Regions from separate parts of the Homo sapiens genome. Here all the other regions are linked to region 1. The links are contacts of gene promoters, found by promoter capture Hi-C in blood cells and fetal thymus (Javierre and others, 2016). All regions are on one chromosome and are shown on one strand. The core of a region is centred on a gene start or on the middle of the fragment in contact, and the rest is flanking DNA. Distances in the headings are between cores, read along the strand shown.

What was found. The method cuts DNA at HindIII sites, captures the fragments that hold promoters and counts their contacts. A CHiCAGO score of 5 or more calls a contact.
Region 2: a fragment that was not itself captured here is called in contact with the fragment with the promoter of SPINT1 in region 1 in 1 of 17 cell types (M1 macrophages); the score reaches 5.0 in M1 macrophages.
Region 3: a contact is called between a fragment that was not itself captured here and the fragment with the promoter of SPINT1 in region 1, in 1 of 17 cell types (M1 macrophages). The highest score is 5.4, in M1 macrophages.
Region 4: a fragment that was not itself captured here is called in contact with the fragment with the promoter of SPINT1 in region 1 in 3 of 17 cell types (M0 macrophages, M2 macrophages and endothelial precursors); the score reaches 5.6 in M0 macrophages.

What each region holds. Positions count from the first base shown.
Region 1 is chr15:40,840,698-40,846,966 of GRCh38, forward strand. SPINT1 (serine peptidase inhibitor, Kunitz type 1) reads left to right here and starts at 3,351. Exons shown (of 11, transcript NM_003710.4): 1 at 3,351-3,489; 2 at 3,793-4,332. The coding sequence starts at 3,858. It overlaps SPINT1-AS1 (SPINT1 antisense RNA 1), which reads right to left and starts at 3,827. Exons shown (of 2, transcript NR_146468.1): 1 at 3,482-3,827. RefSeq lists silencers at 2,789-2,971, 3,133-3,362, 3,443-3,502, 3,793-4,032 and an enhancer at 2,924-3,495. The HindIII fragment of the contact is 21,246 bases long and covers 1-6,269 here.
Region 2 is chr15:40,616,059-40,622,327 of GRCh38, forward strand. It overlaps KNL1 (kinetochore scaffold 1), which reads left to right. Exons shown (of 26, transcript NM_144508.5): 9 at 2,901-2,953; 10 at 4,582-6,269. Among named protein-coding and RNA genes, the nearest start is that of KNL1, 25 kb to the left of the region's middle. The HindIII fragment of the contact is 508 bases long and covers 4,766-5,273 here.
Region 3 is chr15:40,641,994-40,648,262 of GRCh38, forward strand. KNL1 (kinetochore scaffold 1) reads left to right here. Exons shown (of 26, transcript NM_144508.5): 15 at 3,004-3,094; 16 at 3,663-3,779; 17 at 4,994-5,081. Among named protein-coding and RNA genes, the nearest start is that of RAD51-AS1, 50 kb to the right of the region's middle. The HindIII fragment of the contact is 1,538 bases long and covers 3,009-4,546 here.
Region 4 is chr15:40,701,422-40,707,690 of GRCh38, forward strand. It overlaps RAD51 (RAD51 recombinase), which reads left to right. Exons shown (of 10, transcript NM_002875.5): 4 at 4,756-4,873. Among named protein-coding and RNA genes, the nearest start is that of RAD51, 9.4 kb to the left of the region's middle. The HindIII fragment of the contact is 5,309 bases long and covers 1-4,916 here.

The sequences.
Region 1 (6,269 bases), core at 2,101-4,600:
AGAATCATTTCGACTTTTATTTTGTTTACTTATTTTTGAGACAGGGTCTAGTTCTTTCACCCATGCTGGAGTGCAGTGGCATGATCATAGCTCACTGCCACCTTGACCTCCCTGGCTCAAGCAATCCCCCCACCTCAACCTCCTGAGTAGCTGGTACTACAGGCATGCGCCACTATGCCTGGCTAATTTTTTGTATTTTTTTTTATAGAGACGGGGTCTTGCCATGTTGCCCAGGCTGGTCTTGAACTCCTGGGCTCAAGCAATCCTCCTGCCTCAGCCTCCCATAGTGCTTGGATTACAGACATGAGCCATTGCACCTGGCCTCAACTTTTATTTTAGATTCAGTGGGTACACATGCAGGTTTGTTACATGGGTATAGGGTTTGGGGTACAGATGAGCCTGTCACCCAGGTAGTGAGCATATTACCTAAAAGGTTGTTTTTCAGCCCACGCTCCCCACGCTCCCCTCCCTCCTTCTCTCTTCTGGTAGTCCTCAGTGTCTATTGTTCCATCATTATGTCCATGTGTACTCAATGCTTAGCTCCCATTTATAAGTGAGAATATGTGGTATTTGGTTTTCTGTTCCTGCCTTAATTTGCTTAGGATAATGGCCTCCAGCTGCATTCGTATTGCTGGAAAGGACATGATTTTGTTAATTTTATGGCTGCATAGTATTCCATGGTACGTATGAAGTACATTATCTTTATGCAATCCATCATTGATGGGCATCTAGGTTGATTCCATGTCTTTGCTATTGTGAATAGTGCTGTGATGAACGTACAAGTGCATGTGTCTTTTTGGAAAAACAATATATTTTCCTTTGGGTATATACCCAGTAATAGGATTGCTGAGTTGAATGGTAGTTCTAAGTTTTTGAGAAATCTCCAAGCTGCTTTCCACAGTGGCTGAACTGATTTACATTCCCACCAACAATGTATAAGCGTTCCCTTTTCTCTGCATCCTCACCACCATGTGTTTTTGTTGTTGTTGTTGTTGTCGTTTCAAGTAACATTTATTGAGAACTCTTTGTGTCAAATGCTTTGTCTGCATTAACTCAATTAATCCTCATAAAAAACCTTATGAAGCCCCACTTCCCATTCAAGGAGACTAAGGCAGAGAGATCAAATAACTTGCACAAGGCCACACGAATAGTAAGTGGCAGATGCAAGAGCTAAATCCAGTAGTCTGAGTCTGAAGCTCACAAGTTCAACTTCTCTACAACCTGTCACCACTCTTCGTTCACTACCTGACCTTGATGGAGTCAGTGAACCTTTCTGCAAAGTGGAAGCAATTTTTAGAGTTGTCCTGAGCATTAGCAATCCTATGTCAAGTGCCTGGAGGGAACACAGTGGGCATCTCAACAAATGGTGGGTGCTCACCACTTGAAAGTGAGTTATGGGTTTAAGCAAGTTGAATCTGAGGTGAGGGCAGAACTTCCAGATGAAGTCAGAATTGCAAAGGCCATAAAGCCCAGGGTTTAAGCACTGAAGCCATGGAATTGGCCTGCCTGGGCTCCAATCCCTACTCTGCCGCTTCAATGCTGAATGACCTGACAAGTCAGTTTACCTGTCTGAGCCTGTTTGCTCATTTGTAAAATGGGGCTAAAAATACTACCTCCCTAGGTTTGTTTTGAGTATAGGGTAATATGTGGGCAGTGCTTAGGAACAGAGTTTGGGCATTGTCAGTGCTGAATTCATGTTGGTTTTTATAATGGTGTGTATAATGGATGTAATGATAAATTTATGGTGATGTAATATTACCATAAGGTAATATTTTCCTGTATTAAGATTCTTGAGGTCAGGCACAGTGGCTCACGCCTATAATCCTAGCACTTTGGGAGGCCGAGGTGGGTGGATCACCTGAGGTCAGGAGTTCAAGACCAGCCTGGCCAAAAAGGTGAAACCTCGTTTCTACTAAAAATACAAAAATTAGCTCGGCGTGGTGGTGCCCACCTGTAAGCCCAGCTACTTGGGAGGCTGAGGCAGAATTTCCTGAATCTGGAAGGCAGAGGTTGCAGTGAGCCGAGATCGTGCCATTGCACTCCAGCCTGGGTGACAGAGCAAGACTCCGTCTCAAAAAAAAAAAAAAAAAAATAAATAAATAAATAAATAAAGATTCTTGAATGTGTTAGCCATAAGGGGAAATCAAATCACAACAAAACCCTTTCTTCCCAGTGACTGCACAATCATTTTCTTCATTCCCAGCATACCACCATTGTTGTATATCCACCAGTGTGCCAGGGTCTGTGGATAAACCCTAAACATCCAGAGAAGGGGAGACAGGCCCCAGATTCCCACCCCAACACGCATCATGTGAGCAGCTGGAGGATGTTGCAGTTCAGCAAAATCCAAGGGTTGGCCACAGGATCTGCTAGGCAAAGCTGCTCTGGATGAGAAACTGGGAAGAATGTTCCCATTGGTTTGGGGGTTGTTAAGCCATCAGGAAAAGGTTTGGAATCTGTATTTTAAGAGAGCATGCTATGTGATTCCTTCCTCCAGCCCTGCCTTCATCTGTCTTTCACCTGTTCAGACCCTTGCCGTAGAGAATGGTCTCTTAAGAGTTTTTTACTCAGGAGGAGCAATGAGCTTGGCTTCAAGGAGTCCACTGTTTCGTGAAGGGCATTAACTCAGCTACTTGGTGAACTGGAACCTCCAGGCTTCCAAGGATGACATTTCCCTGGAAGAAAGTAGCCAGCAGCGTCCCCTTTGTGAAAGAGAGGAAGCCTGGGCTCCAGGGAAGGGGGCAACAGTCCAATGAGCCATAGCAGGGAATGGACCGAACTGTACATACAAGATGAGGAGGGGCCTCGAACAACAGGGAAGCCCCGTGGAGCACGCAGGGGAGCCTGGACGCGGGGAATCGCCTCCGTTTCTCACCCTGACAGCAGGGAGGGCTTCCCGGAGCTGACAGTGAGGCAGACATCCCGGATCCCTGTTATCACAGGTGCAGCCACGCAACTTTTGGGTTACCTTCCCGCCACGAAATGGAAATGATTTCCTGAGGGCCGGAAAGATCATTTGCATCGGGCCTCAGGTCTGGGGCTGGGAAAGCAGGCCCCGGCCGGAAAGGAAGACTGGAGGCCGCCGCCCCAGAGGCCGGACCCTCGCGTCCCGGCCGCATCCCCTCCCGGCTGGGTATGCGCTTCGGGCGCGGGGCTCCCTCGCGAGGCTGGACTGGGTGGAGCCCGAGAGCCCCTCCGGGGAGCTGGCTGCCGGGGAGGCACCGGGGCTGCGGGGCCGCGGGGCGGGCCGGGCCTGGAGCTCCGCGCTAGAGGCGGCCGCAGCGCACCGGGCGTGGGCGGGGCCGGCAGCGCAAGGGTGAATGTCGGCCCCGCCCCGACGGCGCTGACTCAGTTTCACCAGAAACCAGGGGGAGAAGGCGGCCGAGCCCCAGCTCTCCGAGCACCGGGTCGGAAGCCGCGACCCGAGCCGCGCAGGAAGCTGGGACCGGAACCTCGGCGGACCCGGCCCCACCCAACTCACCTGCGCAGGTAACCCGGGCCCCCGCGCGCAAGGCCGAGGCGCAGGCGGAGCGGGCTGGAGCATGTCCGGCCCTTTGTTCTGCGCTCGTGCGTGTGTCCGGGTACTTGAGCTCCCTAGCGGTCCGCCTGTCCGTCTGTCTGGCTGCCGGGTCCCTGGAGGGCGCGTGGGAGGGCCGGGCCCGTGCGCCCTCTTCGATCCTGGGGTGCTCCGGTCCCTCCTCCCCGCCACTTCCTCCCGGCCGGCCCGCCTCCTCCAAAGTCTCCCGGGCTGATCAGGTGTGTCTCCTCCTCTGTCCCCTCCCTTCTTCTCAGGTCACCAGCACCCTCGGAACCCAGAGGCCCGCGCTCTGAAGGTGACCCCCCTGGGGAGGAAGGCGATGGCCCCTGCGAGGACGATGGCCCGCGCCCGCCTCGCCCCGGCCGGCATCCCTGCCGTCGCCTTGTGGCTTCTGTGCACGCTCGGCCTCCAGGGCACCCAGGCCGGGCCACCGCCCGCGCCCCCTGGGCTGCCCGCGGGAGCCGACTGCCTGAACAGCTTTACCGCCGGGGTGCCTGGCTTCGTGCTGGACACCAACGCCTCGGTCAGCAACGGAGCTACCTTCCTGGAGTCCCCCACCGTGCGCCGGGGCTGGGACTGCGTGCGCGCCTGCTGCACCACCCAGAACTGCAACTTGGCGCTAGTGGAGCTGCAGCCCGACCGCGGGGAGGACGCCATCGCCGCCTGCTTCCTCATCAACTGCCTCTACGAGCAGAACTTCGTGTGCAAGTTCGCGCCCAGGGAGGGCTTCATCAACTACCTCACGAGGGAAGTGTACCGCTCCTACCGCCAGCTGCGGACCCAGGGCTTTGGAGGTGAGGAGGGTGCCAAGATGGATGGGTTTGGAGAGACTCAAAAAAGGGACTGGTTATGGGGTCCTAGGGGAGACGAACATCAGAGAGGAGTTAAGGAGAGTTCACTTTTTTTTTTCTTTTTCTTTCTTTTTTTTTGCGACGGAGTCTCGCTCTTGTCGCCCAGGCTGGAGTGCAATGGCGCAATCTCTGGTTGCTCACTGCAACCTCCGTCTTCCACGTTCAAGTGATTCTTCTGTCTCAGCCTCCGGAGTAGCTGGAACTACAGGCACCCGCTACCAGACCCGGCTAATTTTTTTTTTTTTTTTTTTTTTTTTTTTTTTGGTACAGACGGGGTTTCACTATGTTGGCCAGGCTGGTCTTGAACTTCTGAACTCAGGTGATCCACCCACCTTGGCCTCCCAAAGTGCTGGGATTATTTCTACCTGAAGCCCTCCTTAGAAGTAGGCAGTACAGCCGAATCAAGCCTGGTGATCAATGGGGTGACAGATGTCACAGCCAGATCGCCTTCACATCGGTAGTAGGCAGTACAAACAGTAAACAAATGAAAGGGGACATGAGTAGGGAGGGCAGGGCCCAGGCTCTGGCTCCTGAACTCAGGATGTTCAGAGGTGATGGGCTGGTGCTCACAGGGAGGCCTTTGGCTCTGGGCTGTGTGTACTGGAGGGGAGAGGAAGTCCCCAGGACTCCTGACCTCTGGCACTGATAGGCTGATTGAAGGAGTGAGCTGTCTGGATGGTCTGGTGACTAGAAAGGCACCTTGGCCAAGCACTGGTCTGGGCACACCGATGCCCTGTCAGGTGAGCCTGGCCATAGTCTCCTCCACTGGCTGGACTTGGGACTGCTTAGCATCTCTCTACCCCCTAGGAATGCATTGGCCTTTTGGTGGTCCAGGAAGACTGCCAGATCCGAGACTAGAAAACAAGCCCAGTCTGCGGTTGATCCAAAGGGAGAGAAGTGATGTTGTAGGCACAGAAGCCTAGAGGCTCTGGGGTGGGGGATGAGGAGGGTTGTGGGGTGAGTCAGCCTGTTGGTATGTATACCTAGTAGGGAAGGGATGTCAGCTGTCCAGGCAGGTGTGTGTGCATGCGCATGAGCCAGACAGGGCTCTCCCTGCTTAGAATCTGGTAGCCAAACCTTGTTTACTTCCATAGATAAAGGCAAAGCGGAGGCCAGGGCTCCTCCTCTTTCTTCCCCGGACTGAACTGTCTGCTGGGATCAGGGCCAGTCCAGAGCCTTGGTTCCCCCTTTCTCTCTACCTGCTGTTCTGGCCAGGTGGGGCTCCAGGGCAGGGGTAGGTCACCTCTCATAACCTCTGTGAGCACTTTACAGCTTACTGATTGCTGTGCCACACATCCTCTCACTCAGGCCTCATCACAACAACTTCCAAAAAGGGTGCTACTAGCAGTCATCCCACTTTTTAGATTAGGAAACTAAGACTCCCATGTTAAAGAATTTGCCCAGGGTAACACTGCCCATAAATGGTAGGCCTGAGATTCACCCCAGGGGAGACCTCCAAAAAAAGTCCTGTGCTGTTTTTCACACAAGACCATCTCTCTGGTAAAAACCTAGCATTCTGACCCAAAATAGCCCAGTGGATAACAGAACCGGGGATTGGGGAGTTTGGGGGCCAGAACTGGGCTGGGGCCACATCTGGGGGTGGTCTCCGTTCTGGAAAGTGGAGAAAGGGCTTTCCTCCGCAGACTTTTCCTGGGCTAGTCTCTCTGCCAGGCTAAGGAGGGTCCTCTTTCCTCCCTATCCTTCCAGTAGCTCTCCTGGGTCTCTGAGGAGAGGCGAGATGGGGATTCCTGTGGATGGGAGGGGGACATATCTGAGGGCCAGTCTGGGCCACCAAGTCCCACTGAACCAGGGCTGCAGCCTGTTCCACAAGGAAGTAGCAGAAAGTGTAGGTGGTGATGACTCTTACTGACCTGAGTTGC
Region 2 (6,269 bases), core at 3,770-6,269, 220 kb before region 1:
CTGGCCCAGGGCTTTGTTCTTTACACATTGTCTTCAATTTAAAATTTCACAGGCTCACTATTACTTCTTTTTTTTTTTTTTTGAGATGAATTTTCATTCTTGTTGTCCAGGCTGGGGTGCAGTGGTGCAATCTGGGCTCACTGCAGCCTCTACCTCCCGGGTTCAAGCAATTCTCTTGCCTCAGCCTCCTGAGTAGCTGGGATTACAGGTGCCCACCACTACACCCAGCTAATTTTTTTTGTATTTTTAGTAGAGACAGGGTTTCTCCATGTTGGCCAGGCTGCTCTCAAACTCCTGACCTCAGGTGATCCACCCGCCTCGGCCTCCCAAAGTGCTGGGATTATAGGTATGAGCCACTGCACCCAGCCAACTCACTGTTACTTCTTTCAAACCTGCTGTTTCTCCTGTTTTCTCTGTCTTGGACTCCCACTCATTCAGTCATTCACTGAAGTCAGGAATCAAGAAGTCATTTTCAATTCTTCCTTTATGTCTAATGGCCATTTGGCCTACTTTCTGTTTTGTCTCCTAAATGTCTTGAAAATCGTTACCTATTCTGTATTCCTTCTGTGACTGCTTTAATTCAAGTTGTTATTATTTTTTCTTGGGCTACTGTATTTCATTTCTTATCCTTCCAATCCATTCTCCATATTTCTAAATTTGATTATGTTACCTCCCAGCTTAAAATGGTTCAATGACACTGTTTTGCTTACAGAATAAAGCCCATACTCCTTAGCAATGAGTTAGAATGTCCTTTATCACTTGGCCTGTTTTCTTCTCCAAACTTATCTCCTACCCATTATATAGGTATCCCATGCTCTAGCCCATGATGAATTATTTGCAGTTCACTATATAAACTCTTTTTCTGCCTATATGCATTTATTTTTCATTTTATTTCATTTTATTTTTTTGAGACGGAGTCTCACTCTGTCACCCAGGCTGAAGTGAGGTGGTGCGATCTTGGCTCACTGCAACCTCCGCCTCCCAGGTTCAAGCGATTTTCCTGCCTCAGCCTCCCGAGTAGCTGGGATTACAGGCACGTGCCACCAGGCCGAGCTGATTTTTGTATTTTTAGTAGAGATGGGGTTTCACCATGTTGGCCAGGCTGGTCTCAAACTCCTGACCTCAGATGATCCACCGCCTTGGCCTCCAGAGTGCTTGGATTACAGGCGTGAGCCTCCGCACTCAGCCCCTATATGCATTTATAAATGCTATTTTCTCTATCTAAAGTGATCTTTCTACTCCAGTTTGCCTATCAGGCTTCTCATTTTTCACTTCACTTAGTTTAACTTCAGTGCTATCCAAAGTGTCCAGTCCACAAACTAACTGCTCAGTCCATGACAGAAAAGGAATTTGTACCATAATGTGCCTTAACTGTGGCATTAAGCCACAGTTTAGTTTAGTTTACACTTTTTTCCTAGCAATTATTATTATATGATTTATGTTTGCCGCCAGCTCCTTATCTCGTTATGAATAGGTAACAAGCAGTTCACAGTCTGGCACCATACTTCAAGTAGCACTGGCTTAAATGGAACCCTCTCTGGCAAAACTAAGGAGTTAGTCAGATGTTCTGTGCTCCCATAACACCTCTTTTATTTTTCAGTATATTTTAGAATTTATCACATTGTACTTTAAGTATTTCTGGCTGTCTTATTAAAGAGGCCAAACTTTTTTTGCAGGCGGTGGGAGATACTCCTCCTTGAGGAGCACAGCTACCCCATAGGCAGTGTGCTCAGAATAGCCTGAACTACCATCTCTGAGAGTCCAGAAATTCAGAAATTTTGTCTTGTTCTTCTTTATACCTTAGTAGACATTTGAGGTGTGTTCGTTTGTTTGTTTTGTTTTTTCATGTAATAGGTTCTGAACCAACATTTGTTGAAAAAATGAATGGAAGCCTGAAATATAAATAAGGCTTTTAGTAAAAAAAAAAAAAAAAAAAAAAAAAAAAAAAAAAAAAAAGCTTATAATTATTTCATTATATGTACTCAAGCTCGTCATACATTCTTTAATGTGTTCTAAAGATTTGCCTTTAAACTTTAAATGTAAGTATTTTTAAATGTATTTCCTGTTTTAATATAGCCTTTTGAATCCCTTCCTTATTTACAAAGTCTGATTTGTAGTTCTAAAATAAGTCTTGAGTCTAATCCTTTATTTCCATTTTCATTGCTCTGTTGCCCTAACATGACCTCTTGCGTTAATCTGAACTATTGTAGTAACTTCCTTATTGGTTTATCTTCTCTTGAATCAACTTCTCCTTATTACTTTTTACTATTTTTCTAAAATGCATTATATTTTATAATGGGATTATTTTTATAAAGCACATGTGTCTTATCATGGGAATATCTAGATTCCTTAACATAGAATAAAAGACCCTTCAGAATCCTACCCTAACCTTTCAGTCTCATCATTTGATACTCTTCTCCATGGGACTTCTACTATCCAGGAAATAAAAATAGAGAAGTGAATAATAATAATAATAATAAGTAGTAGTCCAAACTTTCCATCTTTAAAATCACCACCACATTATAAAAATATTTCAGCCACACAGAGGATACAATAATTATTGGTCTCTCTGTCACTAACATAGGATAATTAAGTCTTATGAAATTTTATATGTTCCCAACACAAAAGATAAATGTTTGAGGTGGTGGATATTCCAGTTACCCTGATTTGATCATTACACAATGTATACAAGTATCAAAATATCACATGTAACACAAAAATATGTACAACAATGATGTATCAATTTTTAAAAAATTAAAAAAATTTAATACGTAAGTTCTTAAGGGCTTAGTTACTGGTAAATTCTAGTAAATACTTGTAACTGATGAAGAACCTAAGAAAAGGAAAATCAGGCTCAGTGTTATATTTTCTGACTACAGTTTTTTCTTTTTTCTAAATAGGGATGAACACATTGCTTTCTGCTCCCATTCATACCCAGATGCAACAGAAGGAGGTATGAGTTCATGCAAATACCTTCATATTGTAATGTCATTTGATTGTTAAAACAGAAAACACAATTCAATGATAATGGCATAGTTTAGGGATGACTTAAAAAAATGAATCAGCATAAACTGGAAAGGCTTCCTACCTTTCCAGTTAACTTAAGGATAGTTAAGTCACAGCCAGTTTAAGTAATGGGAGATACAGTATACCAGTACCTCTCAAAGTTTAAAGAGCACATGAGTCTTTATTTCTATTTCCTTAGTGATACTAGTACACAAGTCCATAGGCCATACTTTCAGTAGCAAAGAGTTAATCTGTGTCCTCACTGAGAAAACTGTTGTAGCACACAGTGTAATATATATATATATATATATATTTTAGGCTATCTCCTACAAGAAGGATTTTTTTTGGTTGTTGTTAGACACAGTCTTACACTGTTGCCCAGGCTGGAGTGCAGTGGCACAATCTTGGCTCATTGCAGCCTCAATCTTCTGGGCTGAAGCGATCCTCCCACCTCAGCCTCCTGAGTGGCTGGGACTACAGGTGCATGCCACCATGCCTAGCTAATTTTGTTCATTTTTTTGTAGAGACAAGGTCTCACTCTGTTGCCCAGGCTGGTCTTGAACTCCTGGGCTCAAGGGATCTTTCTGCCTTGGCTTCTCAAAGTGCTGGGATTACAAGTGTGAGCCACCAAGCCCAGTCTAGAATGTAATATAGATTAGCCATCATGGGCTTATGTCTTTCCTAGACTTTTAAAATTTAGGATAAGAATGACCTATTCAATATAGTAATTAGAATTTTTGTCATGTTTACATTTGGTGCTGTCAGTGTTTTTAATTTTTTAGTCATTCTAGTGGGTGTATAATTAACCTTGAATTTTTAATTTGTCCCAAAACACTAAAAAGTAAATTACTCGCAGACTTTAGATTTCTTTTTCTTTTCCTAATAGATTGGGTATTACTCTGTTGCCGAAGTTGGAGTGCAATGGTGTGATCCTAGCCTATGACAGCTCAAACTCCTGGACTCGAGCAGTCCTCCCACCTCAGCCTTCCTAGTAGCTAGGACAACAGGCATGCACCACTGTGCCTAATTTTTATAATTTTTTGTAGAGACAGGATCTTACTTTGTTACTCCTGGCTTCAGGCAATCCCCCTGCCTCAGCCTTCCAAAGTGCTTGGATTACAGGCGTGAGCCACTGTGCCTAGCCTAGAATAATTTTTTTTTTTTTTTGAGACAGAGTCTTGCTCTGTTGCCCAGGCAGTGGTGCAATCTCAGCTCGCTGCAAGCTCCGCCTCCCAGGTTCACACCATTCTCCTGCCTCAGCCTCCCGAGTAGCTGGGACTACAGGTGCCCGCCACCATGCCTGGCTTATTTTCTTTTTTGTATTTTTTAGTAGAGACGGGGTTTCACCATGTTAGCCAGGATGGTCTCGATCTCCTGCCCTCGTGATCCACCCACCTCGGCTTCCCAAGAATAATTTTTAATGACAAATTATATGCAACATGCTACACCATTGATTCAAGCAAACCAACGTGTTATGAAACCATCACTGAGGATTTTTTATATAATACATGTTGTAAAATGCCTTTTTAAAAGTTTGCTTTTGTTCTGATCTCTTATATTTTGCTTTCATTATAGTTTTCAATTATAGAACATACCCGTGAAAGGAAACATGCAAATGACCAGACAGTCATTTTTTCAGATGAAAACCAGATGGACCTGACATCAAGTCACACTGTAATGATTACCAAAGGCCTTTTAGATAATCCCATAAGTGAAAAGTCCACCAAGATAGATACCACATCATTTCTAGCTAATTTAAAGCTTCACACCGAGGACTCAAGAATGAAAAAAGAAGTAAATTTTTCCGTGGATCAAAACACTTCTTCAGAAAATAAAATAGATTTCAATGACTTCATAAAAAGATTGAAAACAGGAAAATGTAGTGCTTTTCCTGATGTGCCTGATAAAGAAAATTTTGAGATACCTATTTATTCCAAGGAACCGAACAGTGCCTCTTCTACACATCAAATGCATGTATCTCTTAAGGAAGATGAAAATAACAGTAATATTACTAGGCTCTTTAGAGAAAAAGATGATGGGATGAATTTCACCCAGTGTCATACAGCCAATATTCAGACATTGATTCCCACATCCAGTGAGACCAACTCACGGGAATCTAAAGGTAATGATATTACAATTTATGGCAATGACTTTATGGACTTGACATTTAACCACACTTTGCAGATCTTACCTGCAACAGGTAATTTTTCTGAAATAGAAAATCAAACTCAGAATGCCATGGATGTAACAACAGGTTATGGAACTAAAGCTTCAGGAAATAAAACAGTTTTTAAGAGTAAACAAAATACTGCTTTTCAAGACCTTTCCATAAACTCTGCAGACAAAATACATATTACCAGAAGTCATATTATGGGGGCAGAAACTCACATAGTCTCACAGACTTGTAATCAGGATGCCAGAATATTAGCCATGACCCCAGAATCTATATATTCTAATCCATCTATTCAAGGTTGTAAGACTGTTTTCTATTCTAGTTGTAATGATGCCATGGAAATGACCAAATGTCTCTCAAATATGAGAGAGGAGAAAAATTTGCTAAAGCATGACAGTAATTATGCTAAAATGTATTGCAATCCAGATGCTATGTCTTCTCTCACAGAGAAAACTATTTATTCCGGAGAGGAGAACATGGACATTACCAAGAGTCATACAGTTGCAATAGATAATCAAATTTTTAAACAAGATCAATCAAATGTGCAAATAGCAGCTGCACCAACACCCGAAAAAGAAATGATGCTCCAAAATCTTATGACCACATCAGAAGATGGGAAAATGAATGTAAATTGTAACTCAGTTCCTCATGTATCTAAGGAAAGAATACAGCAGAGCCTGTCAAATCCTTTGTCTATTTCATTGACTGATAGAAAGACTGAACTCTTATCAGGTGAAAATATGGATTTGACTGAAAGTCACACAAGTAACTTAGGAAGTCAGGTTCCTCTTGCAGCTTATAATCTAGCACCGGAGAGTACCAGTGAATCTCACTCTCAGAGCAAAAGCTCTTCAGATGAATGTGAAGAAATTACCAAAAGTCGTAATGAACCATTTCAGCGATCAGACATAATAGCCAAAAACAGCTTAACCGACACCTGGAACAAAGACAAAGATTGGGTTTTGAAGATTTTGCCCTACCTTGATAAAGATTCTCCTCAGTCAGCTGATTGTAATCAGGAGATAGCAACAAGCCATAATATAGTCTACTGTGGTGGAGTTCTTGATAAACAAATAACTAATAGAAATAC
Region 3 (6,269 bases), core at 2,528-5,027, 200 kb before region 1:
ACTATCCAACTAAATTTGAACCAATCTAACAGAAAAGAAATAAAATAGTCTTTAAGAATTATCTGGGTTTTAGAAGTAGAAGGAAAAGAATATTAAAAATTTTTCAAAAGAATTATGTAGTTTTGGCTGGGCGCAGTGGCTCACGCCTGTAATCCCAGCACTTTGGGAGGCTGAGGCAGGTGGATCACGAGGTCAGGAGATCGAGACCATCCTGGCTAACACAGTGAAACCCCGTCGCTACTAAAAATACGAAAAATTAGCCGGGCGCGGTAGCAGGCACTTGTAGTCCCAGCTACTCGGGAGGCTGAGGCGGGAGAATGGCGCGAACCCAGGAGGTGGAGCTTGCAGTGAGCTGAGATCGCACCACTGCACTCCAGCAGCTTGGGCCAAAGAGCGAGACTCTGTCTCAAAAAAAAAAAAAAGAATTACGTAGTTTTAAAATCAGAAATTTAAGATATTTCAGATTTTCCTGATTCTGTTCATTTAACAAATATTTATTGAGCACCTACATCTGCCAGGTACTATACTATGCACTGGGGTTCATCGCTGAACAAAACTGGCAAATTTTGTATCTTCATGTTGTTGGAAAGAGTTGGCTGTGTCAGGATTTCCCTGAGAATGTTTGTTTGTTTGTTTCTTTGTTTATTTTAATGAGACAGAGTCTCGCTCTGTTGCCCAGGCTGGAGTGCAGTAGCGCCATCTCGGCTCACTGCAAGCGCTGCATCCTGGGTTCAAGCGATTCTCTTGCCTCAGCCTCCTGGGTAGCTGGGATTACAGGTGCCCACCAACATGCCAGGCTAATTTTTGTATTTTTAGTAGAGATGGGGTTTCACCATGTTGGCCAGGCTGGTCCTGAACTCCTGACCTCAAGTGATCTACCCACCTCGGCCTCCCAAAGTGCTGGGATTACAGGCGTGAACCACCACACCAGCTGAGAATGTTTATTTTGAATGAAACGGGATCTTACACTCAATGAGCGGTAGGTTTAGTTGTGCTTTACTGTTTGATTTTGCATCTGTATGCCTGCATATATCCTCTACAAGAGATATTCTATCTCTGTTAGAAATTTATTTTCTCCATTTATTAACAAAAGACTAATATATATTGAGACTATCATAACTTTGCTGCTTTTATAGATGCTATTCTAAAAATGTGAAATATGCCTTTGAACTGAATTGGAAACTTTTATTTTATTTTTTATTTTTATTTTTGAGACAGAGCCTCACTCTGTCACCCAGGCGCGATCTCGGCTTACTGAGAACTCTGCCTCCTGGGTTGACGCCATTCTCCTGCCTCAACCTCTACTACTACAGGCACCCGCCACCATGCCTGGCTAATTTTTTCTATTTTTAATAGAGACGAGGTTTCACCGTATTAGCCAGGATGGTCTCGATCTCCTGACCCCCGTGATCCACCTGCCTTAGCCTCCCAAAGTCCTGGGATTACAGGCGTGAACCACCGCGCCTGGCCGGGAACTTTTATTAAAATAATACATAAAAAAATTAGCTGGGCGTGGTGGCACGCGCCTGTAGTCCTAGCTACTCGGGAGGCTAAGGCAAGAGAATTGCTTGAACCCAGAAGGTGGAGATTGCAGTGAGCCAAGATTGCGCCACTGCACTCCAGCCTGGCAGCCTGGCAACAGGGTGAGACTCCGTCTCAAAAAAATAAAATAATAATAGCTACAACTTTATAGCAGCGATCATTGACAGACCTTAGGATTCTTTATAAGCGAAATGTTTCACATTGGAACAAGTTGGTACGTTGAGATGAGAATTCTGTTAGTGATAGAAGTTTTTTTGATGTATGACATTCTTGAACTACTATTCTTCAAGTGAATAATCAGGCTTTTCTTGAATGAATTCCCCTCTTATTATGTAGAAAAAAACTAGGAAGAGTTAAATTAAACATGATTGTAGACCTGAGCTGGTTCATTCAAGCTGGCTTCTGAACCCTACGCTTGAAGAGGTGGCCTGCCCCTCCACACTTGTGGGTATTTCTAGTCGGATGGGACGAGAGACTGAGAAAAGAAATAAGACACAGAGACAAAGTATAGAGAAACAACAGTGGGCCCAGGGGACCGGCTCTCAGCATACCAAGGACCTGCACTGGCACCGGTCTCTGAGTTCCCTCAGTTTTTATTGATTATTATCTTCATTATTTCAGCAAGAAGGAATGTAGTAGGAGAGCAGGGTGATAATAAGGACAAAAACATGTAAGCAATAGAATCTACGTCATAGTTAAGTTTAAGAGAAGGTATGGTGACTGGATGTACACCTAAGCCAGATTTATGTTTCTCTCCACTCAAACATCTCAGTGGAGTAAAGAATAACAAGGCAGCATTGCTGCAAACATGTCTCGCCTCCCACCATAGGGCGGTTTTTCTCCTATCTCAGAATCGAACAAATGTACAATCGAGTTTTATACAAAGACATTCAGTTCCCATGGGCAGGCAGGAGACAGTGGCCTTCCTCTATCTCAACTGCAAGAGGCTTTCGTCTTTTACTAATCCACCTCAGCACAGACCATTTACGGGTGTCGGGCTGGGGGACAGTCAGGTCTTTCTCATCCCACGAGGCCATATTTCAGACTATCACATGGGGAGAAACCTTGGACAATACCCCGCTTTCAAGGGCAGAGGTCCCTGCGGCTTTCCGCAGTGCATTGTGCCCCTGGTTTATTGAGACTAGAGAATAGCGATGACTTTTACCAAGTATACTGCTTGTAAACATTTTGTCAACAAGGCACGTCCTGCACAGCCCTAGATCCCTTAAACTTTGATTTCATACAACACATGTTTTTGTGAGCTTCAGGTTGGGTCAAAGTGGCTGGGGCAAAGTGGTTGGGGCAAAGCTACAAATTAACAACATCTCAGCAAAACAGTTGTTCAAAGTACAGGTCTTTTTCCAAATGGAGTCTCTTACGTCTTTCCTTTCTACATAGACACAGTAACAGTCTGATCTCTTTCTTTTCCCTACAGTGCTAATTAACTTTTCCGTATTTTAGATTAAAGCTTTCTGCATCGAACCAAGATAAGCTGTTGGTTGATATAAATAAGAACCTGTGGGAAAAAATGAGACACTGCTCTGACAAAGAGGTACTTTTGTCTCATTTTCTGAATGAGAATCAGTGAAGACATTCTGAACGATGTTTATTGTGAAATGAGTAACTGTTACTTGGTCATAGTGATGAGTTATTTAACTTATTTTTTAAGTGTAATGTGGTACCAAGGTCTTATTTAATTACACACAATTGTTAATATATAATCTTTTCAAACCTGAGATGATCAATTTAATATATGAAATATAGTTGAAGTTTATTTAGAGTTCCCTCCTTGCTATTTGCCTTTCACTTAGATTTAGACGAAGAAAAGATTTACTTTAATTGATTAAATAGCAAGCAACCCATTTTATATGTGCCCTAATATATTAAAAAGTTTCATTAACTAAGAGCCTGTCATTTTCTAATTTATAATATGAATAAGTGAATTAAAGGCAGGAATCAAAACTGAAATCTTTTTTCTGGTCTTAGACAATTACATGGAATTAAATTTGCAAATGACAAATATCCTGCCTTAGGATAGGCAAAGCCTAGCCTTCCTAGACCATTTACCTCTTCTGACTCGTTTGTTTTAGTACAGTGTTCTCTATAACTTTCCCTTCCAGCTGAAGGCCTTTGGAATTTATCTTAACAAAATAAAGTCATGTTTTACCAAGATGACTAAAGTCTTCACTCACCAAGGAAAAGTGGCTCTGTATGGCAAGCTGGTGCAGTCAGCTCAGGTAATTTGAGACAGTTAATATCATAGAAAGAGAGAGATATTAAAATTACTTTCTAATGGTTATAGAATATGAAGAATCTTCCTTAGAAGACATGTGAATAAGACTTGGGCAAAAACTTAACAATTAAGAGGTAAGGTTCAATTTGTCAAAAGTGGCAAATCCTGACATCTTGAGTAATACTGGAATATAATTACTAATGTGGGCCTATGTCTCATCTCAAATACTATTATCCATCATACATACTGAAATAAAATACATAGGATTCTGGTCTCCCATTGCTAAGGACTATACCATAGTATTATCTTCTTCATAGTCCATACTAAGCTGTATATGTATGCACATGTGTTTAAAGTAGCATTTCCCAAAATGATTAGCTTTTTTAAAAGGCTCTGCATAAAAAAACTTTCCATTGGCAAGTAAGTATGGGAAATGTTGCAAGCAATATGCCCTTTCAGAGAAACATAATTTTTTAAAGTCTAAGCATAAATGCTGTAATTCTTTTTGACCACTGTTTCCTATGTTTAGTTTATCATAGAAATGTTTTTAAGTAATAAATATTAATATATTGTATTCCATGGAACACCTATAGAAATGCTAAAATAAAGTACCAGAATTAGTTTTATGTCAATATGCTTTTTAAATTATTTCATTTTCTTTTAATAAAATATTTTATTAAATTTATAAAATAAACATTTTATTTTCCAGAGTTCTTTTGGCTAAAACTTATTTTAATAAAATTTACTTTTATTTTTTAAGTTCCAACCTAAAGCTTTGACCTTCATTTTAAGATTTGCCTGTTTGTAGGCTGGGTGCGGTGGCTCACGCCTGTAATCCCAGCACTTTGGGAGGCCAAGGCGGGCGGATCACGAGGTCGGGAGATCGAGACCATCCTGGCTAACACGGTGAAACCCCATCTCTACTAAAAATACAAAAAATTAGCCAGGCATGGTGGCAGGCACCTGTAGTCCCAGCTAATCAGGAGGCTGAGGCAGGAGAATGGCATGAACCCGGGAGGCGGAGCTTGCAATGAGCCCAGATGGCGCCACTGCACTCCAGCCTGGGTAACAGAATGAGACTCCGCCTCAAAAAAAAAAAAAAAAAAAAAAGATTTGCCTGTTTGTGATCATGATAGAGCGATTATGTGAGCAGTTTGAACCATTTATAATATTTTCTTTAGAGGTTTAACTTGACAGTCTATAATCTTTTGTATTTAGAATGAGAGGGAGAAACTTCAAATAAAGATAGATGAGATGGATAAAATACTTAAGAAGATCGATAACTGCCTCACTGAGATGGAAACAGGTAAAGTATTTTAAATACTTTTCCAAAAGAAAATTTAATTTTATCTAAATGCTCTCCTACAGTAGAGAATGTTGGTACCACGATATTGAAGACTTGTATTAGCAACTTGAGATATTAAATTAGAGTAAATTGGCTCACGCCTGTAATCCCAGCACTTTGGGAGGCCAAGCCGGGCGGATCACCTGAGGTCAGGAGTTTGAGACCAGCCTGGCCAACATGGTGAAACCCCATCTCTACTAAAAATTTTAAAATTAGCTGGGCGTGGTGACGGGCGCCTGTACTCCAGCTACTCGGGAGGCTGAGGCAGGAGAATAGTTTGAACCCAGGATGTGCAGGTTGCAGTGAGCCAAGATTGCGCCACTGCACTCCAGCCTGGGTGGCAGAGCGAGACTCCATCTCAAAAAAAATAATAATAAAATAAATAAATAAATAAATTAGAGCAAATTAAAGTTCCTTTACTATAGTCATCCATAATACAATCAAGAGCTGCTCAAGATAACCCAGACTGTAATTTTGTGTTTTTTAATAGATGAATTTATCTCAGTTTGAAAACCGTCTATCCTTTCAGTTTGGTCTTTCATAATCCCAACTTTTTAGAGTTACTCTCCTGAAACTCCTTTCTCAAAGATCACATAATTCTGCATAGTCATCAAATTTTGTTCTTCTCAGTCCTTAGCCATTTTGACCTCTTTCAGCATTTGACACTGATGACTGTTCTTTTCTTCCTGAAATGTTCATCTCCCTTAATCTCTGTGATAATGCACTATCTTGACCCAGTTGTTTTCTCCTGGCTGCTCAATCCAGCTTCTCTGTTGGCCTCTCTTTCTCTAACTGATCCCTTGTGGGGATTTAGATTTTATCATCTGTTCTTTTCTATATTCTCTCCCCTAGTGCTTTCGTGTGCCTTAATAATTATGTGACTGATTCCCAAATTTAAATTCCTCAAGCATTTTTTGAGCATATACTGCATGCCAGATACTGTGCTTAGTATCAGAAAATAAATAAAAATATTTAAGACACAGATTTTGCCCTAAAGGTAGCTTATAATCATTTCAGGTGAGGGCATCTTTAGCCTCTCTTTCTTGAATTCTAGACTCAATTTCTAGCTTCCTTCTGAACCTGTATGCAAAAAATATCCTTAAACACCTTAAACTGTGAATACAGCCTGGGCAACAGAGTGAGGCACTA
Region 4 (6,269 bases), core at 1,012-3,511, 140 kb before region 1:
TGGAGTGCAGTGGTGCCATCTCAGCTCACTGCAACCTTCACCTCCCAAGCTCAAGCGATCCTCTCACCTCAGCCTCCCAAGTAGCTGGGACTACACTACAGGCACATGCCACCATGCCGGGGTAGTCTCGAACTCCTGAGCTCAGGCGATTCACCTACCTCAGCCTCCCAAAGTGCTGGATTATAGGTGTGAGCTACTGTGCCTGGCCTATTTATTTTTCTAGCTTCATATAGTTCTTTAACATACATACTTCCCCATGGTTACATTTTGTTTTATGAACCTATTTCTTCAGTGTTTATATAGTTACACAGTTTTATTGCCTTTACCCTTGAAGTTTTATGTAGTATAAAGCAGATTTTTTTTTTTTTTTTTTTTTTTTTTGAGACGGAGTCTCGCTCTGTTGCCAGGCTGGAGTGCAATAGCGTGATCTTGGTCTACTGCACCCTCCGCCTCTCAGGTTCAAGTGATTCTCCTGCCTCAGCCTCCCGAGTAGTTGGGACTACAGGTATGTGCCACCACACCCAGCTAATTTTTGTATTTTTATTAGAGACAGGGTTTCACCACGTTGGCCAGGATGGTCTCGATCTCCTGACCTTGTGATCTGCCCACCTCAGCCTCCTAAAGTGCTGGGATTACAGGTGTGAGCCACCGCGCCCCACCGCAAATATTTATTTATAAAATTGTATTTTCACGTATCGATTACTGTTAGCGTTAGATAAATTTATTGGATTACTCAAATGAATATTTGCTGAAGTGGTTGCTTAATTGGAAATAAGGGTTCTGAGTCCCTAACAGTATTTTTGTTAAAAGATTGTCATATTGACTAAGCCAGTAGGGGTCCCTAAAGTCTTTCTGTTTTCGCTTTTTGGGTATCAGTTTTTGTGAATGAACAAATGCTGACAGGATCTTTTCTTTTTGCCTTGCGAGATCTTGGTTTCAGAAATCAAGTCACTTCTCTGTTTCTATGAACACAACAATGCAAACCTAGAATACATGATTTGAGATGCAATATGGTATAGACTTACGTGTCTTTACTTTTCAATATTTTATGTTCTTTGTTTCTGGCCAGTAAAGATTATGATTGTATTGTTTGTTTTCTGTTTTTTTTTGAGGCAGAGTGTCGCTGTGTCACCCAGGCTGGAGCACAATGGTGCAATTTTGGCTCTGCTCACTGCAACCTCTGCCTTCCGGGTTCAAGTGATTGTCGTGCCTCAGCCTCCCAAGTAGCTGGGATTACAGGCTCCCACCACCACACGTGGCTAATTTTTGTATTTTCAGTTGAGACGGGGTTTCACCATGTTGCCCAGGCTGGTCTCAAACTCCTGGCCTCAAGCAATCTGCCCACCTCAGCCTCCCAAAGTGCTGAAATTACAGGCACTAGCCACTGTGCCCACCTTTTTTTTTTTTTTTTAAAGAAAAAAAAGAAAAGTCTCACTCTGTTGCCCAGGCTGGAGTGCAGTGGCATGATCAAAGCTCACTGCAGCTTCAGCTTCAAACTCCTGGGCTCAAGGAATTCTCAGCCTGCTGAGTAGCTGGGACTATAGGCACATGCCACTAGCCTGACCATTTCTACCAGTTTTGTCTTTGCTAATACATTCTCCTGTTTTTCACCAAAGGAAGTAGTCTATATTCCTTGAGCTCCCATGGCTTGTTAGTACTTCTCATATTACCCATCACATCTACTTGTACTATAGTTATTTTGTATAGTTTATCTTTCTGATTAAGTTATAAGCTCTGTGGAGGCAGGAATCAGCTCTTCTTTTTCTCCATATCCTTCAGAGTCCCTGGGACTATGTTTCATACGAAGTAAGTGTCTAGTACATGTTTGTTGCACTGAAATGACAGTGAGTATATGAATTGGCCAGGCTGGTCTCAAAATCCTGGCCTCAGGTAATCCGCCCATCTCAGTATCCCAAAGTGCTGGGATTACAGGCGTGAGCCACTGCACCTGGCCGTGCAATGAATTTTTAAATGAAATATTAAGTATATAGAAAAGTTTAGAGAATAAACTTTCATTGATTTTTCAGCTATTTGTTGATTTTTTTTCTTCATGGGAAATTTAAACATTATGAAAGTTTAATCTTTTTACTTTCTATGGGTCTATTTAGATTTTCTTCTTGAGTGAGTTTTGGTAGTTTATCTTTCTAAGAATTTGCTTATTTCATCTAAGTTACCTAACTTGTTGACATAGAGATGCTCACAGGGTTTCCTTATACTACTTTTTATTTACATAAAGTCAGTAGTAATGTCCCCTCTTTCATTCTTGATTTTAGTAATTTGAGTCTTTTCTCTTTTTTTCTCGGGCAATGCAGCTAAAAGTTTGTCAATTTTGTTGATATTTTCAAAGAACCAGCTTTTGGTTTCATTGATTTTTCTCTATTATTCTGCCCTCTACTTAATAGTTTCTACCCTAACCTGTATTATTTCCATCTTTCTGCTTGCTTTGTTTTGTTTGCTTTTCTTTGGAAGGTTAGGTTATGATTTATCTTTTTTATTTTTAGAGGCAGAGTCTTGTTCTGTCACTTACGTTGGAGTGCAGTGGTGTGATCATAGCTCACTGCAGCCTCCAACTCCTGGCTCAAACAAACCTTCTGCCTCAGCCTCCCAGGTAACTAGGACCACAGGCACGCCCCACCATGCCCTGCTATTTATTTTATTTTATTTTATTTTTGAGACGGAGTCTCCCTCTGTGCCCAGGCTGGAGTGCAGTGGCGTGATCTCTGCTCACTGCAACCTCTGCCTCTTGGGTTCAAGCGATTCTCCTGCCTCAGCCTCCTGAGTGGCTGGGATTACAGGCACGTGCCGCCATGCCCAGCTAATTTTTAGTAGAGACAGGGTTTCACCGTGTTAGCCAGGATGGTCTTGATCTCCTGACCTCATGATCTGCCTGCCTCAGCCTCCCAAAGTGCTGGGATTACAGTCGTGAGCCACCGCGCCAGGCCTTTTTTTTTTTTTTTTCTGATGCAGTCTCACTCTCTTGCCCAGGCTGGAGTGCGGTGGTGTGATCTCGGCTCACTGCAACCTCCGCCGCCCGGGTTCAAGCAGTTCTCCTGTTTCAGCCTCCTGAGTAGTTGGGACTACAGGCGCACGCCACCACGCCCAGCTATTTTTTGTATTTTTAGTAGAAATGGGGTTTCACCATATTGGGCAGGCTGGTCTTGAACTCCTGACTTCGTGATCTGCCCACCTCACCCTACCAAAGTGCTGGGATTCAGGCATGAGCCACCATGCCCAGCCATGCCCTACTAATTTTTTTTTTTTTTTTTGAGATGGAATCTCGCTGTGTCTCTCAGGCTGGAGTGCAGTGGTGCAAATTCAGCTCACTGCAACCTCCGCCTCCCAGATTCAAGTGATTCTTCCACCTCAGCCTCCCGAGTAGCTGGGACTACAGGCGCGTGCCACCACGCCCGGCTAATTTTTGTATTTTTAGTAGAGAGGAAGTTTCACCATGTTGGTCAGGCTGGTCTTGAACTCCTGACCTTGTGATCTGCCCACCTCAGCCTCCCAAAGTTCTGAGATTACAGAGGTGAGCCACCACACCCAGCCACCCTGCTAATTTTAAAACATTTTTAGAGCCAGGGTGCTGCTTTGTTACTCAGGCTGGTCTCAAACTCCTGGCTTCCAGCAGTCCTCCCACCTCAGCCTCCCAAAGTGCTGGGATTACAGGTGTGATTCACCACACCCAGCCTTCTTTTCTAATATAGCTGTTTATAGCTATGAATTTCTCTCTAAGCACTGCTTTTCTTGGAGCCCATACGTTTTGGTATATCTTCGTTTTCATTCATTGCAAAAACATTTTCTGATTTCCCTTGTCATTTCTTCTTTGACTTGTTGCTTATTTAGGAGTGTGTTGCTTTATTTTTGCATATTTGTGAATGCACTTACTTTTCAATTTTAGAATCAACCCATAGTGCTATTACAGAACACTTATCTGTAATTACAAAATAGAATGTGAATGTTCTCAGCCAGACAATATGAAAGAAAAGGTACAGCTGATAGAGGTGGGGAAGTAGCCATGGAGAGAGAAAAGATTGAAGGGCAAATGTCCTCATTTTTACAAAGTAGGAAGTTAAGGGATACAGTCTGCGGTTGATGGAGCAGGAAATGAAGGTGTACTGTATTGTCATTTTTGTCATAAATTGGGCAAAACACATATGTACGGATCTCTAATAGTTTTTTGTTTTGTTTTGTTTTGTTTTTTGAGACAGAGTCTCGCTCTGTCCCCCAGGCTGGAGTACAGTGGCGCGATCTCGGCTCACTGCAAGCTCCGCCTCCCGGGTTCACGCCTTTCTCCTGCCTCAGCCTACCAAGTAGCTGGGACTTCAGGCACCCGCCACCACGCCCGACTAATTTTTTGTATTTTTTTAGTAGAGATGGGGTTTCACCATGTTAGCCAGGATGGTCTCGATCTCCTGACGTTGTGATCCGCCTGCCTTGGCCTTCCAAAGTGCTGGGATTACAGGCGTGAGCCATCGCACCCGGCCGGATCTATAATAGTTTTTAAAACTATATTAATATATTAACTTGAATTGGCAATTTAAAAATTGATCTTCATGGAATCTCTGAATTAGATTATCCTTTTTTATGACTTTCTAAAGAGAAATCATCCTGGTAATTTTATTTGATATTTTCTCTTCCCATTGCACACCTTGTTTTACTAATATTTCTTTTTTCTTTATATATATTTTTTTGCCATCAAGATCACTGTGGTAAGGAATATTATTTTGTTGATTTAATATTTCTTATTTTTCCCAGGCTGAGGCAGCTAAATTAGTTCCAATGGGTTTCACCACTGCAACTGAATTCCACCAAAGGCGGTCAGAGATCATACAGATTACTACTGGCTCCAAAGAGCTTGACAAACTACTTCAAGGTGTAGTAATCCTTTATCCTGTGTTGTGAACTCTAGTTAGGAAAGCTTCCAGGTTATAAAACAAAACTGAAATATTTGTGTAGCATTTCCTTGTTAGATAATGATAAAGAGATAGAGGAAGGCCAGGTGCAGTGGCTTATGCCTGTAATCTCAGCACTTTGGGAGGCTGAGGTGGGCAGATCACCTGAGGCTGGGAGTTCGAGACCAGCCCAGCCAACATGGAGAAACCTATTAAAAATACAAAATTAGTTGGGCATGGTGGCACATGCCTGTAATCCCTGTAGGTGCACATGCCTACTCGGGAGGCAGAGGCAGGAGAATCACTTGAACCCGGAAGACGGAGGTTGCTGTGAGCCAAGATTGTGCCACTGCACTCCAGCCTGGGTGACGAGCAAAACTCTGTCTCAAAAACAAAGAGAGATAAAGGAAGTATCCACATTGAAGAGGTAAGACTGCTGCAAGGTAGGACCTTATTTATAAAATACTAAACTTATCTGCAAATTAAATAATTTAGTCTCCATTTAATATTGTGTTAAGAGAGTAAGCTCCTTTTGCTTAAGGAGGTAACTGTAATTATAACCTACTCTACCACAGGGTTGAAAACCTGATGACTGGTTAAAACATTCCATGTTTGAATACTACTCATTGTGTACACACTAATCTTCAGGACTTCAGGGAAAACTATAAAGCTTTTGACCTTATTATTTATTTTTCGAGACAGGGTCTCACTCTGTCACCCAGGCTGGAGTGCAGTGGCATGGTCTCAGCTCACTGCAACCTCTGCTTCCTGGGCTCAAGTGATCTTCTAGCCTCAGTCTCCCCAAGCTAGGACTATGATCATTTACCACCTGGCTAATTTTTTTTTTTTTTTTTTTTTTTTTTGAGTCGGGGCATCACTCATTATGTTGCCCAGGCTGGTCTCAAAATCCTGAGCTCAAGCCATCCTCCTGCCTCAGCCTCCCAAAGTGCTGGGATTATAGGCTTGAGCCACCTTGCCTGGCCCAATGTCAGTTTTCTTTCCCTTTTTTTTGAGACAGAGTCTCACTCTGTTACCCAGGCTGGAGTGCAGTGGCATAATCTCAGCTCACTGCAACCTCCGCCTCCTGGGTTCAAGTGATTCTCCTGCCTCAGCCTCCCAAGTAGCTGGGACTACAGGCAAGTGCCACCATGCCCAGCTAATTTTTGTATTTTTAGTAGAGATGAGGTTTCACCACGTTGGCTAGGTTGGTCTCGAACTCCTGACCTCAGATGATCTACCCGCCTCAGCCTCCCAAAGTGCTGGGCTTACAGGCGTGAGCCATCATGCCTGGCCCCCAATGTCAGTTTTCTAATATCAGTGCTATACTATCATTATGCAAGAGGTTAACACTGCAGAAGGCTAGGTGCATAGAAATTT